Linked DNA regions of Homo sapiens: region 1 is linked to region 2. The links are contacts of gene promoters, found by promoter capture Hi-C in human tissues and cell types (Jung and others, 2019). All regions are on one chromosome and are shown on one strand. The core of a region is centred on a gene start or on the middle of the fragment in contact, and the rest is flanking DNA. Distances in the headings are between cores, read along the strand shown.

Region 1 (6,815 bases), core at 3,369-5,868, 560 kb before region 2:
GTCTATCCCAATTTTCCACATCAAGAGTGCCTGCCTGTGGAAACCATGGGTTATGCGTAATAACCTTTTGTGGCTTCTGCAGGAGGTTAGTTAGTGCCTGCGAATTAACCTGAGCTCCAGACTGTCTCAACAGAACTTTAAGCAACTGCACATGATGTTTTTCTTCAATAGACAAATTCTGCTTCATGTTACCCTGATTCAGAAAACTTCCCATTCCAAGTACTTCTTTAGAGCACTGACCTTATATCGTTCCCAGTACCTCTTTAGGGCACTGACCTTCTATCTGCTGCCAGCAGACTCATCCTGGGGTCCCCGTTCATCTTGTCAATTTCAATTCCTCTGCTCCAGCAGAGCTTCTTCATTCACGTCTTCAAAGTCCCTGTGTTCAGATGCCACGTGTCCGACATCCTTGGAGTCCCTGTTCTGGGTCGCCACTTGTCACCTGCACAGACCTTGGGGGACTGAACAAAGGGGGCAAACATGGGAATAAAAGACAAAGACAAGAGAGCATATTTGAAAGAAGGGGTCAGGGGGCTCCTTGCTTCTGGTAAACAGGGGGCCTGAGCTTTAGAGCCCTTCACATTTATTAGGCAAAAGAGATAGCAAGAAGTGGGGGGTGATTGTCGGTTAGCAGTTTGATTTACAGCAGGCTTGCAAGACTGCAGTCTTTGAACAATAGGATCTAGATGTCCCAGTAGATAATCTCAATGAGCATGGCGCCAGGGCCCTCAGCAAACCTCCTGGCGGCAGGCGCAGTTGTGAGTTTGCCCACATCCTGCATTCATGATAAACAGTTTGCTGTTTGATCATATATCCTTCAGTGGAATGCTGAGTTGGTCACAATCCCTTTGGCCTTTTCAGCTCCCAACAGATGGGTACAATAGCAGAATGGAGATTGCAGGGAAACATGCCAGTGATCTCAAAGATAGAAAAATAGAAATTATCCAATCTGAACAACAGAGAAAAAGGACTGGGGGGAGCTGAACAGAACTTCAGGCACCTGTGAGACAATTCCAAAATATCTAATGTTCGTGTTACCAGGATCTGAGAAGAACAGGAGAAACAGAATGGAGCAGAAGAAAATATCTGAAGAAATAATGGCTGAAAACTTCCCAAATGTGGTGAAAGGCATACACCTATAGACTCAGGAAGCTGAGTAAACCACAAACAGGATAAACCAAAGGAAATCCAACCCCCATTTTTCAGGTTTTAGAACTTCAGGGAGGGAGTCACTTCCCCTTGTCATGAGGGATGCTTATGACTTCAGACTGAAATGATTCCCTGTCTCCTGTTACACAAAGAGAGTGAAAATAAATTTAATCAGTTCAGAATGATATTAAATGAAAGTCAGAATCTCCTGCTCTTTCTCCCAGTTCCATCTCTTAGAGTCACTCACTCTTTCTGTTTTTTGTTCTGGTTTGCTAAGGGTGATCCCAAAGAACTTAACTACTTAACAGAGTTGTTAATAACTAGGCTATATATAAACAGAATCTAAATTAATTTAGAAAGGAACTCTCCCAGTTACTTCAAAAAATCAGATAAATGCTTAATAAGTGCCCCTTGTCCCCAGGTCCAATTCATCTTAGGTCTGGTGGCAGAACTGATAGCTACATGCTTTCCTGTGTTTTCCCAAAGCACTGAGGAAGAAGTGGTGCAAATGTGAGGTTCTTGGGGAACCCCCATCTATATAAACAAAGCTTATATCCATGGATTGAGATGGCCACTGTCTCAAAGGCAGGTCTATGTTTTGAACCGATACCCAATTCAGAGCCATGAGAGAGACCACAGGATGAATGTGAGGCAAGCCTTATTCTGCTAGGCTTCAGGGAAAACGGAATCCAGGAACTCTCTCGCCCCTGGTTGCTCTCATTCTCCATCATTTATTCTCGCTGCAGTCTGATTTTCTCTAGGTGGTGTGAAGCAGTGTCCTGGCGACTGCTGGGGCCCTCTTTTTAATTTCATCTTTCGATCTCCATTCTTCCATTCTATGAGCACAGAACCTCTGATTTTAGTTGGGTGTGTGTACACCCAGAATGAAGACTTTATTCCCTAGCCTCCCATGCAGCTAAATTTGACCATATAACTAAGTTATAGTCAATGTGAAGTATAACGGGAAGAGATGTGTGCAATTCTAAGTCGTACCCTTAAAGGAAAAGGGAATGTACCCCCCATTCCTCCTTTCCCCCTTCCCACTAGCTGAGATGAAAATATGTTGGAGAGCCAACTTGGACCATGCATATGAGGGTAGGATTCTAAGGATGGGGAGCCACAAGTAGAAGAAGGATGAGTCCCTGGGCAGCCTGTGAAGTCCTACCTGCACTGAACCACCTGCCTCTGAACTGTTACATGAGAGAGACAGCAACTTCAGCCTCTTTTCAGCCACAGTTAATTTGGTTCTGTTACAGCCTGTATTCTTACTACATTAAAATTTCCAAAGCAGTCACGAGCTCACTGAGATTTTAGGAAAGGGGACATAGATGAGGGTTGGGGTGTCAAAAAACTGTGAGGTCATGTTTAAAACACTACAGGAGCTGGTATGGTTTAGTTCTGTGTCCCCACCCAAATCTTATCTTGAATTGTAATCCCTATAATCCTGAGGTCAAGGGAGGGACCCGGTGGGAGGTGATTGGATGGTGGGGGTGGTTTCCCCCATGCTGTTCTCATGGTAGTGAGTGCATTCTCATGAGAAATGATGGTTTTATAGGTGTTTGACAGTTCCTCTTCACATACTCTCTCTCATGCCTGCTGCTGTGTAAGATATGCCTGCTTCCCCTTCTGCCATGATTGTAAGTTTCCTGAGGATTCCCAGCCATGCAGAACTGTGAGTCAATTAAACCTCTTTCCTCCATAAATTACCCAGTCTCAGGAATTTTTTTTTTTTTTTTTTTTTTTTGAGACTGGTTCTCACTCTGTCACCCAGGCTGGAATGCAGAGGTGCAATCTTGGCTCACTACAACCTCCGCCTCCTGGTTTAAGCAATTCTTATGCCTCAGCCTCTCAAGTGGCTGGGATTACAAGCCTGTGCCACCATGCCTGGCTAATTTTTTTGTATTTTTAGTAGAAACTGGGTTTCACCATGTTGGCCAGGCTGGTCTTGAACGCCTGGCCTCAAGTGATCTGCCCGCCTCAGCTTCCCAAAGTGCTGGGATTACAGGCATGAGCCACCGTGCCCAGCCTCAGGTATTCTTTATAGCAGTGTGAGAATCGACTAATGCAGAAGCACACACACACACAGATCAGAGAAAGATTAGTCACATGTGCCTCCTTATGTCCTAGACCATGTCACAGTGTTCTCTTGCGTTACAGTGCCTCTGCAGGTACTGCTCCTTCTGCCTCCCCTTACCCCAACACATACACACAATTGGCCTTCTAACCTTGGCTAAACCTGGCTAAACCTGGCTAACTCAGGGAAATATCTGACCACATTCCAGACTAAGTGAGGCATCTCTGTTATATTAACACGCCCCTCACAGCATGTATTACTGTCTCATAATATTACAGATTTGAAACTTTACATTTATTCCGTATCTTTTTTTACTTAAACAGGTTATTTGATTATCTCTCCCACATCATACGTAGATTCTGTGAGGTCAGGGACTAAGTCTGACTCCTTCACCGCTGTATCCTCAGCACCTAGCACAGTACATGACATACAGAAGGTGCTTGTCAAAGTCAAAATAAAATATGGAGATGAATCTCTAAATGTAATGTTTTATTTGGGGAAGCGAGAATCGCAACTCGGAGCATACACACAGATCTGGTGGTCTTTGGTATGTCCGAAAAACAAAGAGAAGGCTGGGCGTTTTATTAGAAAGGGAAATGCATTGGCACTAGTAAAGTTTCAGGGAGCTGGCAAGCTCTGATTGGTGACTGACAGTGGTAAGTAAAACTAGTATTAGGTTATGGCGGGTTGTTTCAGCAGTTACTAGCTGAATCTGGTCTCAGGGGGACAGCAGGCCATTTCCGCAGCAGTTAGTGGAAATATTGGTTCTTGGAGCAGGCGCTGCGTGCCTCCAGTGCTTTTCCCCTGGCCCCTGGATTCTGATTCCGTTGGGCATAAGAAGAGTGACCCAATTCGTATTATCAACTTTCACATGCTCAATAAGAATGTATGCATGTAAGCTATGGGTGAGTGAATGAATTTGGACAACTCCTCCTCCAGTGAAGAAAAGCAGAACTTACAACCTTGAGCCACTTATAAAATACTAACATACTACCACCACCTGTGCGCTGTCTTCTCAGAACCATGCTCTTCCCAGGATGAGTAACTGTGTGCTTCTAAGTGGAAACCTGATGACAGTCACCCAGTCAGTGACTGGCGGACCCCCTATTATTACTCCCATTCTTTGGGCAGGGAGATGCTTAACCGGCTGGAAGCACAGAGGAAGGGCAGGAGAACGAAGCAAGTCACCCGGCAAACACAGCTGTATCCGGAGGCCTCCGGGCTTCCGGAGGTCTCGGGGCTTCTGGGCTTCCGGTCCCTCTTCCGGAGGCCTGGGTTTCCGGGACGTCGCGCGCCGTGTGGGGCGCGCACGCAGGGCTGGGCGTGAGGGGGCGTGCGCGTGCGCAGGCGACGCGCCGAGGTACTAGGCAGAGCCGTGGAACCGCCGCCAGGTCGCTGTTGGTCCACGCCGCCCGTCGCGCCGCCCGCCCGCTCAGCGTCCGCCGCCGCCATGGGAGTGCAGGTGGAAACCATCTCCCCAGGAGACGGTGAGTAGTGGCGCGCGGCGGCTCGGAGTACCTCTGCCGCCGCGCGCATCGGCTCAGCATGCCCGTCTCTGTCTCCTCAGGGCGCACCTTCCCCAAGCGCGGCCAGACCTGCGTGGTGCACTACACCGGTGAGTCGGGGGCCCAGCGGGGAGGGGGCCCGGGCCGCAGTCCGCAGCCCGGGTGCGGCTGGCCGTCGAGGCCTGGGGGCCCGGGGCCTGGGGTCCGGGGCGTGGCGGCGGCGAGGTCCGCATGGCCCGAGGCTGAGGCCTGGGCGGTGGCTCAGGGGCAGCCTGGGGCTTGCGGAACCCGGGCGGGTCTGAATCGGCGGCTGTGAGCGTCGGCTGCGGGCTAGGTGTTATCTGACCCGTCAGAAGCATTTCTGCACCTTAGATGCTGCCCTTATGCCCGCTGCACAGATGAGGAAACTGAGGCTTGGCGAGGCGAAGTCACTTTCCCAAGGTCTCACTTTCCCAAGGTCACACTTTCAGGAATGGGCAGAGCTCTGGCCAGGGACCATTAGGAAGGATTTGTACCATTTCTGTGCCCCTGCCCCCACTTCCATCCCTCCCTTCACTGGAGATGAGGACGAGGTAATTCCGAGTCTGCAGAGCTGCTGCTTCCTCCGGGGAACTCGGAATTCGCCCCTTTGCCTAGGGTGGGGAAACATCCCACTTCCTAAGTCATTGCTTTGGCCCTTCCTGGCCTTGGGGGAAGTAGAGCTGCACGGCCTTCTTCCGTCTTTTTACTTTTGAGCCACTTACAAATCCAAGGCTCAGTGACAGCGCTGGCTCAGGCTGACCGAAAGCTGCACGTGTAATTTAGTCCCCCAGCTCTTCTAGAAGTAGAGACTTTTCTCGTCCTCATTTTAAAGATAAGCATCTGGAGGCTAATACATAGTGATAATACAAGCCAAAGGAAATTTTAGACACCTCCCCCTCCCCAGCCAGAATTCAGACATCAGAGTCGTGTGCCTTGGGGCTGTCTTACTCCTTCTCCTTACAAGCTTGTCCTGGTTTGTATGGGGGCGGGGGAGGGGGAGAGCTGAGTTGGCGGAGACTCAGTGGCTGTGGGTCCCACAAGGGTGGCAGTGATTGGTGTAGCCACAGTTGTTGATACGAATAACCTTCCCTCCCCCTCCTCCTTCCCCTTTCTCAACCTTCCCACCCTTTCCTCTGTTCCCCCTCCTCCTCCCTCTTTTTTTCCCACTCCCTCTCCTCCTCTTCCTCCTCCTGGGTAGTAGGCTGTGGGCAGTTCTGGCCAAGTTGCTCACGAATAAGCTCCACCTTTCTCTTCCAAATCATGGAAACATGGAGGGATCCCTCTATTGAGGGAAATGACTTTCACTGGAAAGAGGAAAAGGCAACTAACATCCCCCCTCCCATGCCCTTTTATTTCTGTGGCCCTTCCCCGTGGGTAGAAATGGGGGCAGGAGGTAGAAGTTAAGGACTAGAACTTTAAAAATTCTGCCAAAGGAGGAGTTACTGAAACCCATCTTTCTGGGGAGCAGGCAGTCTCATGTCCGTGAAGGAAGCTGGAAAGTGCTTTTGATGTTTTAGATAGCTGTCCTTGTAGGCCACAGTCAGCACCTGAGCCTGGGAGGTCTGGTAGATGAAAGCGCATCCTTTTGGTGATTTGTCATCGGAAGGATGAGGAGAGTAACCATTTACAGTGCTGGGGTGAGTGGGCAGTTCATTCAGTTCCGCAGCCAACTGGGGCAAAGATTGGGACTCAAGCCGTGAGGAGCTGCCTTCTGCCGCACCCCCTCCCCACCCTAGCTTGTACATAGCCACACTAGGGTGCTTGGCAGCATGTGTCCCACTCCCACGTCTGCCCCTCATGCTCGCCCATGTTCTGGTGCTGCCAACAGGACTGGACCCCAGCATGTAGGCAGTGCCGCACTTCACCATGTCTCTTTGTGAAATATCCCCACACAGCATGTCTGGAGCCTTTTCCTATGAGAACAGATGGTCATGAGACCCAGAACACCATCAGGGTTTCCAGTGCCTCTTGAAGTGTGTGTTTTTCTCGCGGGTGGCACGCACCCACATGTTTCCAGAGCAGCAGCAGGACCCTGGCATGCATTAGGACAAAAGCTTTCTTTTTGA
Region 2 (7,026 bases), core at 1,038-3,537:
GTGTGGTTTCCAAAGGTTATAATTTTCATGACATTCTACACCCAACCCGCCCCCTTCCTCCCACCTGCTTCTTTCTTTCCCTTCAGCAGAAGCCTGGCCTAGATTTGGGGAGGCCCTTGCCTGCCCCAGAGGAGATTGGGAAGGCTCCAGGCAGTGGCAAGGGGCCAGCCAGCAGGGCAGCCCCAGCTCAATTTCAGCCCAGCTGTCCAGGTCAGGGACACCCAGCTGGGCCACCTCCAGAGCCACACCAGGCCCTGAGCTATTTCTGGAGGCCTCCCAGACGCTGGTGCCCTGGCCTGCCCAGGAGTCAGCCTTGCTCAGGGTGGCCTTGCACTAACATTAGGAAGGGAGAAGGGAGTAGGCTGTGGAATGGGTGTGGATGTGGACATCTAGGCCCACTGATACCAAGTTGATCTTCTAGGCCTAGGTCTGCACTTGAGGTTGCAAAATGGGGATGAAGGATTTTGCAGTGAGGACAGAATGGAAGATAACACATGCAAGGTCTTGGGGAAGGGCCTGGCACGCAGGATTAGAAAGGGGAGGGGGAGGCAGATCCACAGCCAAGCCCACTTCCTATCCTAGACTGCCCTCTGCCCAGGCCTGAGTGCACCATCATGACTTCTTAGCTCAGCCCAGAGACTGAAGAAACTTACTCAATGTCACAGAGCAACTCAGGGACAGGGCAGTGGTTTCATGATTTATAAATATGCATATATATACACATATATACATATATACACACATACATATATATACATATATGTGTGTGTGTATATATGTGTGTGTGTATATATATATATAGAGAGAGAGAGAGAGAGAGAGAGAGAGAGAGAGAGATGGGAGGACTGCACTTCATGAAGGCTGTGTGAGTTAACCTCCTGCCTGCAGAACACACAAATGGTCCATGAACGTTAGTTTCAGTCTTGATTACTGAGGTTTTGGGCATCCCTAAATTTTGCACTGGCTCAATTGCCTCAGCCCCTGCCTTGCATCACAGTGGGAGAAGATGATACATTTGCTAATAAGTAAAAAAACCAAAACATGCAAGAACCAGAGCAGGGCTTATGAAGTCAATAAATAATATTTGTTGAAAGAATAAAAGAAAGCCTTGTTTTCTTTCTGAGTCCTCGGAGATCCTGTCCCCCAAAGCCAGGGGCAGGCTCCAGAGGAGAGAGGATATGTAACTCCCTTATGAAGAGATTGAAGACTCTCAAAATGCATGATTCTGTGTGTCAAGGATTCTAAGATTGAAGCCAGAGGGACTAGGAGCTAACCACTGCATTGTCTGACTGTGACTTCGAAAAGGGGCTTAACTTCTTAGAACCTCCGTTTCCCCACCTACAAAAGGAGACTGACAATAGCAACCTAGGGGGCAGGGGGTGTCCCCAGGAGACACAGCAGGGTCTGGCCTAGGTCAGCTGCTCCACCTGGGGGGATTCCGGCCCCACTCCCAATTCCAAAGTCTCTGGTGACTAGTGGCTTTGGTTTAGGGACTGGCTCTATTCCCTTCCCCAAACTGGGGATGATTCCCAAGAGGCCAGCAGCGGCTCTGGGGGCTGGAGAATCTGCTGCCCCTGCATCCAGCCCAGAAATGTCAGTCCCGTCCGATCCCCAAAGAGTGGTCCTCTGTCCCCGTAGACAGAAAGGCGCCAAATGAGCCGAGTCCAACCCCGGACTGCGGAGAAGGAAAGACAGACGCCCAAAGGGGGTATCCCGAGGACAGTGTGGGGCGCGGGGATATGTGATCCAGCCAGGGGTCTACAGGTCCCTGCCGATAAAACGCTGGGAAAATGACTACCAGTTGCCCGTCTGGGCCTCTCAAGGCAAGTCCAGATGTGACTAGACTAGGGGGCTGCGAGGTGGGGCAGAAAGACTTGAACTGGATTCTCCGCCAGAGCTCGCCGGGCCGGGACACTTGCCTCTCTGAGCCTCAGAGTCCTCATCTGTGAAATGACACGCAGGTACGACGCGGGGAGAAAGCAGACAGCAGACGCTCGGGGAACGGGGCCCCCAGACCCGGGGTCGCACCCGGACCCACCCGCGCCCTCACCTGGAGCCCGCGCTAGGCGTGTCCCGGCTCCTCTCGCGCAGGCTTTGGAGAGGCTGACAGCTCGGACCCGGGCCGGTAGTGGCCGCTCCCAACGACGCCCAGGAGGCCCCAGCCCCGCGTGGGCACCTTTGGGGTCCCCTTTGGAGCTGCCCTCCGCGGTCGAGCTGAGCGGGTGGCCCTCACTGTCGAAGGCCCCCACCGCAGGGAAAGTCCCTGGGGCGCCGTGGAAGGGGAAGTGAGCACGCCGCCCCCCTTCACACCAGAATGGTTCGCCCCGGACTTCCTGATTGGTTCCTCGCTTCCGTTCGAACGGCGCGCCGCCAGGGTTGCCAGGCGACCGCTTAGCTTCCCCCGCCCGAAGGAGAGGCGCTGCTCAGCAGCTCCGCCCGCTCCTCCCAGCCGGCCCCACCTTCTTCCTGCCGCCGCTTCAGCCCCGGCGCCTGGTTCTTTCCCTTCCTCCTCCTCCCTCCCGCGGCCAGCTGGGACTTCCTCTAGGACCCCAGCTGGAAGAGCTCCAGTTAGAGGGCCCTGGCTGGTTCCTAGTCCTGACTTTGACGCTAACTCCCTATGTGACCCGGTGCAAGCCCCTTCCTTTCTCTGTTCTCCTAACTGCATGATGATGAGTGAGTTAATTTTAAAATGTGCATACCCAGCAGTCCCGAAATTTACAAAGGAAATGACCAAAGATATGAGCAAAGATTAATATTGCTCAGCCTTATTCATCATAGCAAAATAATGGAAACAACTTCAATGCCTCTTGAAAGGGATTGGTTATATAATTCCATCCTGTGGAGGAGCTAACTTAATTGAGCTTTTTGCATGCCGGGTAGCTTTACAGAACAAGTCTTGTCAAGGCTTATGACATAACCCTCTAAAAGTACTTTTAATTATTAACACTTTATTTATTTCTTTATCTTTTTCTTTTCTTTTTTTTTTTTTTTTTTTGAGATGGAGTCTCACTCTGTCGCCCAGGCTGGAGTGCAGTGGCAGGATCTCAGCTCACAGCAGCCTCAATCTCCTGGGGTCAAGCAATCTTCCCACCTCAGCCTCCCAAGTAGCTGGGACTACAGGTGTGCACCACCACACCCGGTATTTTCTGTATTTTTTGTAGGGATGGGGTTTTGCCATGTTGCCCAGACTGATCTTAAACTCCTGAGCTCTAGCAATTCTACCAACTCAGCCTCCCAAAGTACTAGGATTACAGGCATGAGCCACGCCACCTAGCCTAATTTTTCCCACTTTCTGATGAGGAATATTATGCAGCCATTAAAAGTGAAGTAGCTACCAGGAGCAGTGGCTCACACCTGTAATCCCAGCACTTTGGGAGGCTGAGGCGACCAGATCACCTGAAGTCAGGAGTTCAAGACCAGCCTGGCCAACGTGGTGAAACCTCGTCTCTACTAAAAATACAAAAATTAGCCAGGCGTGGTGCCACATGCCTGTAATCCCAGCTACTCAGGAGGCTGAGGCAGGAGAATAGATTGAACCTGGGATGTGGGGGATGCAGTAAGCTGAGATCATGCCACTGCACCCCAACCTGGGCAAGAGATCATCTCAAAAAGATAAAAATAAAAGTGAAGTAGCTAGAAGATATTTAAAGATAGGGGGAAATGCTAAGTATTAAACATTGGTTTATTTATGTTTTTTAGAGACAGGGTCTAGCTCTGTTGCCCAGGGTGGAGTGCAGTGGTGCAATCATAGCTCACTGTAACCTAGGTTGAAGCAATCCTCACACCTCAGCCTCCAGAGTAACTAAGACTACAGGCCCGCATCACCATGTCAAGCTACGGGTCTCGCTATGTTGCCCCAGGCCAGTCTAGAACTCCTGGCCTCAAGTGATCCTCCTGCTTTGGCCTCCTGAATTTCTAGGATTACAGGCATAAGCCAATGCACCCCTCCCAAATTTTTTTGAAGTACAGTATGCTTCAAAACACTATGTACAGCATAAATATGTATTAAATACATATGTATATGTGTATAATCATCTATAATCACAGCAGTTAATTTCTTCTTTGTGTTTTTGTGAATTTTCCAAATTTCCAATACTTGAACATGTCAAAAAAGTATATTTTTAGGGGGATTAGAATGAATTAACTCTAAGGGCCTTTAAGGTGAGGAAATTTTATAGCAGTCAGTCTGAATTGCTCAATTTGGAACCAGCTTCTCTGTTTCATTCCAGCTGGTGTCTTTTATTCTTTGTTTGGATTGCCAATAATTGAGAACTTACTGCGTAAACCCCTGGGTGGGCAGGGGAGGGAGCTAATAATATATCAATAGCTAATAATGATTGTACACTCTGGCATGGACACCAACCAAATCAGAGCCAACCACTGTCATAAACAGGGAGTCTGCTGTATCCGTGAGGACCAGCTAAATATCAATCCTGGCCCTGTGCCCTCTGCTACATTGTGTTAGGGCTTTATACACATCATCTCATTGGACTTCATGACTATCTAAGGCGAGAGATCCTGCTATTATTCCCATTATATAGATGAGAAAACTAAGGTCGGTCTGGATCCAGAATGAATTCTCTGATCCACTCTGTTACATTCCCTTGTAAACATGTGAGAACTGTTTGGGAGTAACAGTGAGGTAAGGCAAGGGGGATCCTGTGATCCTATAAGACACAAGAGAAGATTGAGCAGGTAGCTTCAGCCTAGGGAGACTTCTTTTTTTTTTTTTTTTTTTTTTTTTGAGACAGAGTTTCACTCTTATCGCCCAGGCTGGAATGCAATGGCACGATCTCAGCTCCCTGCAACCTCTGCCTCCCAAGTTCAAGTGATTTTCCTGTCTTAGCCTCCTGAGTAGCTGGGATTACAGGTGCCCGCCACCATACCCGCTAATTTTTTGTATTTTTAGTAGAGACAGGGTTTCAGTATGTTGGTCAGGCTGGTCTTGAACTCCTGACCTCAGGCGATCCACCCACCTCGGCCTCCCAAAGTGCTGGGATTACAGGCGTGAGCCACCACGTCCAGCCCTAGGGAGACCTCTTTAAGAAAAAATTACAGATATGAAATTAAGTAATAAAGTGAAGATTTGGTTAGAAAGAGACAAGAAACCACAATAAGGTGGCTCATGCCTGTAATCCCACCACTTTGGGAGGTCGAGGTGGAAGGAGTGCCTGAGCCCAGGGGCTTCAGACCAGCCTGGGCAACAAAGCGAGATCCCCAGCTCTACAAAAAAATTTTAAAAAGAAATTAGCTGGCCAGGCATGGTGGCTCATACCTGTAATCCTAGCACTTTGGGAGGCCGAGGCTGGTGGATCACCTGAGCTCAGGAGTTTGAGACCAATCTAGACAACATGGCAGAACCTCATCTCTACTAAAAATACAAAAAATTAGCTGGACGTGGTAGTGGGCACCTGTAATCCCAGCTACTTGGGAGGCTCAGCCAGGAGAATCACTTGAATCTGGGAGGCAGAGGTTGCAGTGAGTCAAGATTGTGCCACTGCACTCCAAGCTGGACGACAGTGAGACTCCGTCTCAAAAAAAAAAAAAAAAAAGGAAAAAAGAAATTAGTCAGGCATGGTGGCACGTGCCTATAGTCCCAGCTACTCAGGAGGCTGAGAGGGAGGATTGCTTGAGACCAGGAGGTTGAGGCTGCAGTAAGCCATGATTTCACCACTGCATTCCAGCCTAGATGACAGAGCAAGACCTTGTCTCCAAAAAAAAAAAAAAAAAAAAGAGAAATTGCACAAACGTTACAAAACGCAGAAAAATAACATTCTTTTTATTAGCTGCCTGTCTCAAACACATCTGTAATACTTTCCATAAACTAGCTGCTGGCTCCGTGTATACATTCAAACCTCTCCTTCACAGTCTTGTGGAACTGAGTGCTGTAGGACCATTCATATATCTTGAGATATAACCTCTGATCCTGAATCTTGATGCCACGACAAGTTGAGTCAGCTCAGTATGCTCGGTATGGATATATTCCTGGAAGCCATTTCAATACCAGGTCAGTTAGTAATAATTTTTCACAAAAGTGACTGGAAACAATATAAATATATCCCACTAAACCCAAAGTAAATGTTAAGGTCCTTTTAGCAAGATGCCCAAACTGCTCACACCAACCCCAACATCATCTGATGCAAAGGGAAGTTGGAATGAAAGGAGATAGTGGTTTTAACAGAATGAGGTTAAGATGCCTTACATTGGTAAATTTTACAGAAGCACATGGCCATGTGAACACATCACTAGGGTGCTTCCCAGACCTCAACTTCCCTGTTATTAACCAGGAATGACAACAATGGTGTTGACCAAATTCTTCTCTGAGATATGTAACTTTAATCAGGGTTGGGAGATATTTGAGATACCTGGATAAAGGCCCTGCTCACTGACCCTTGCGTCTTCAAGTTTGCCTCTGCCATGCACAGCCGAGAGCTTAAAATTAGACAAAACAAAAACCGAGAGGCCCATTCCTAGATTGAGAAAGTGAGGCAGAGGGCAGAAGGAACTTGTCAGGATCCCAAATTAGGCCATGTAAAGAGAGATCATCTGGGCGCACTCAGATTCTAGAATTGTGGGCATCTTTATGTGCCAACAGCATATTGGTCTTCTATTTTCAGGACTATATTAAGCACCTGGTGCCAATTCAGAGTATTCAAGTCCTCCCAGTCCTTCTCCTCCCCCACCATGGGGAGTGGTGAGAGAGAAGAAAAAGGCGGATAAACTGTCATTAACTACACCCAGATCAGAGAGAACTGGGCGGTCTGTATGGCCTTATCCTGACCCAGCACATGAGCAATGATAACATCTCGCCTTGTTGACAGGCCTATGGCTGGTTCTGCGTGTGGGTTTTGCCTCCTTCAGAACGTTGACCTTAGCAGTATTTTTGCCACTCAGCTCGAAACCAAGATGCAATCAGCCCCAGATGTCAGCTCTCTGTCTCCTGTGCACCTATGGCTCTGTTTTCTTTAGTTTCATTTAATTTAAAGGGTGTTCTCTCTATGTGTGTTTACTTGCACCTGAACTTTT

Evidence for each region. The method cuts DNA at HindIII sites, captures the fragments that hold promoters and counts their contacts. A contact is called where the count stands out against the background at its distance.
Region 1: a contact is called between the fragment with the promoter of FKBP1A here and the fragment with the promoter of FAM110A in region 2, in 1 of the 25 tissues and cell types used here (lymphoblastoid cells).

The regions. Positions count from the first base shown.
Region 1 is chr20:1,390,857-1,397,671 of GRCh38, reverse strand. It overlaps FKBP1A (FKBP prolyl isomerase 1A), which reads left to right and starts at 4,618. Exons shown (of 5, transcript NM_000801.5): 1 at 4,618-4,710; 2 at 4,791-4,838. The coding sequence starts at 4,674. FKBP1A-SDCBP2 (FKBP1A-SDCBP2 readthrough (NMD candidate)) reads left to right here and starts at 4,500. Exons shown (of 10, transcript NR_037661.1): 1 at 4,500-4,710; 2 at 4,791-4,838. MIR6869 (microRNA 6869) reads left to right here and starts at 4,711; the gene lies at 4,711-4,772. RefSeq lists silencers at 4,562-4,611, 4,812-4,911, 4,922-4,991 and enhancers at 4,726-5,226, 6,018-6,531. The HindIII fragment of the contact is 6,579 bases long and covers 1-6,258 here.
Region 2 is chr20:828,976-836,001 of GRCh38, reverse strand. It overlaps FAM110A (family with sequence similarity 110 member A), which reads right to left and starts at 2,287. Exons shown (of 2, transcript NM_001042353.3): 1 at 2,051-2,287. RefSeq lists an enhancer at 271-370, a silencer at 1,887-2,036 and a cis regulatory region at 6,506-7,026. The HindIII fragment of the contact is 14,108 bases long and covers 1-7,026 here.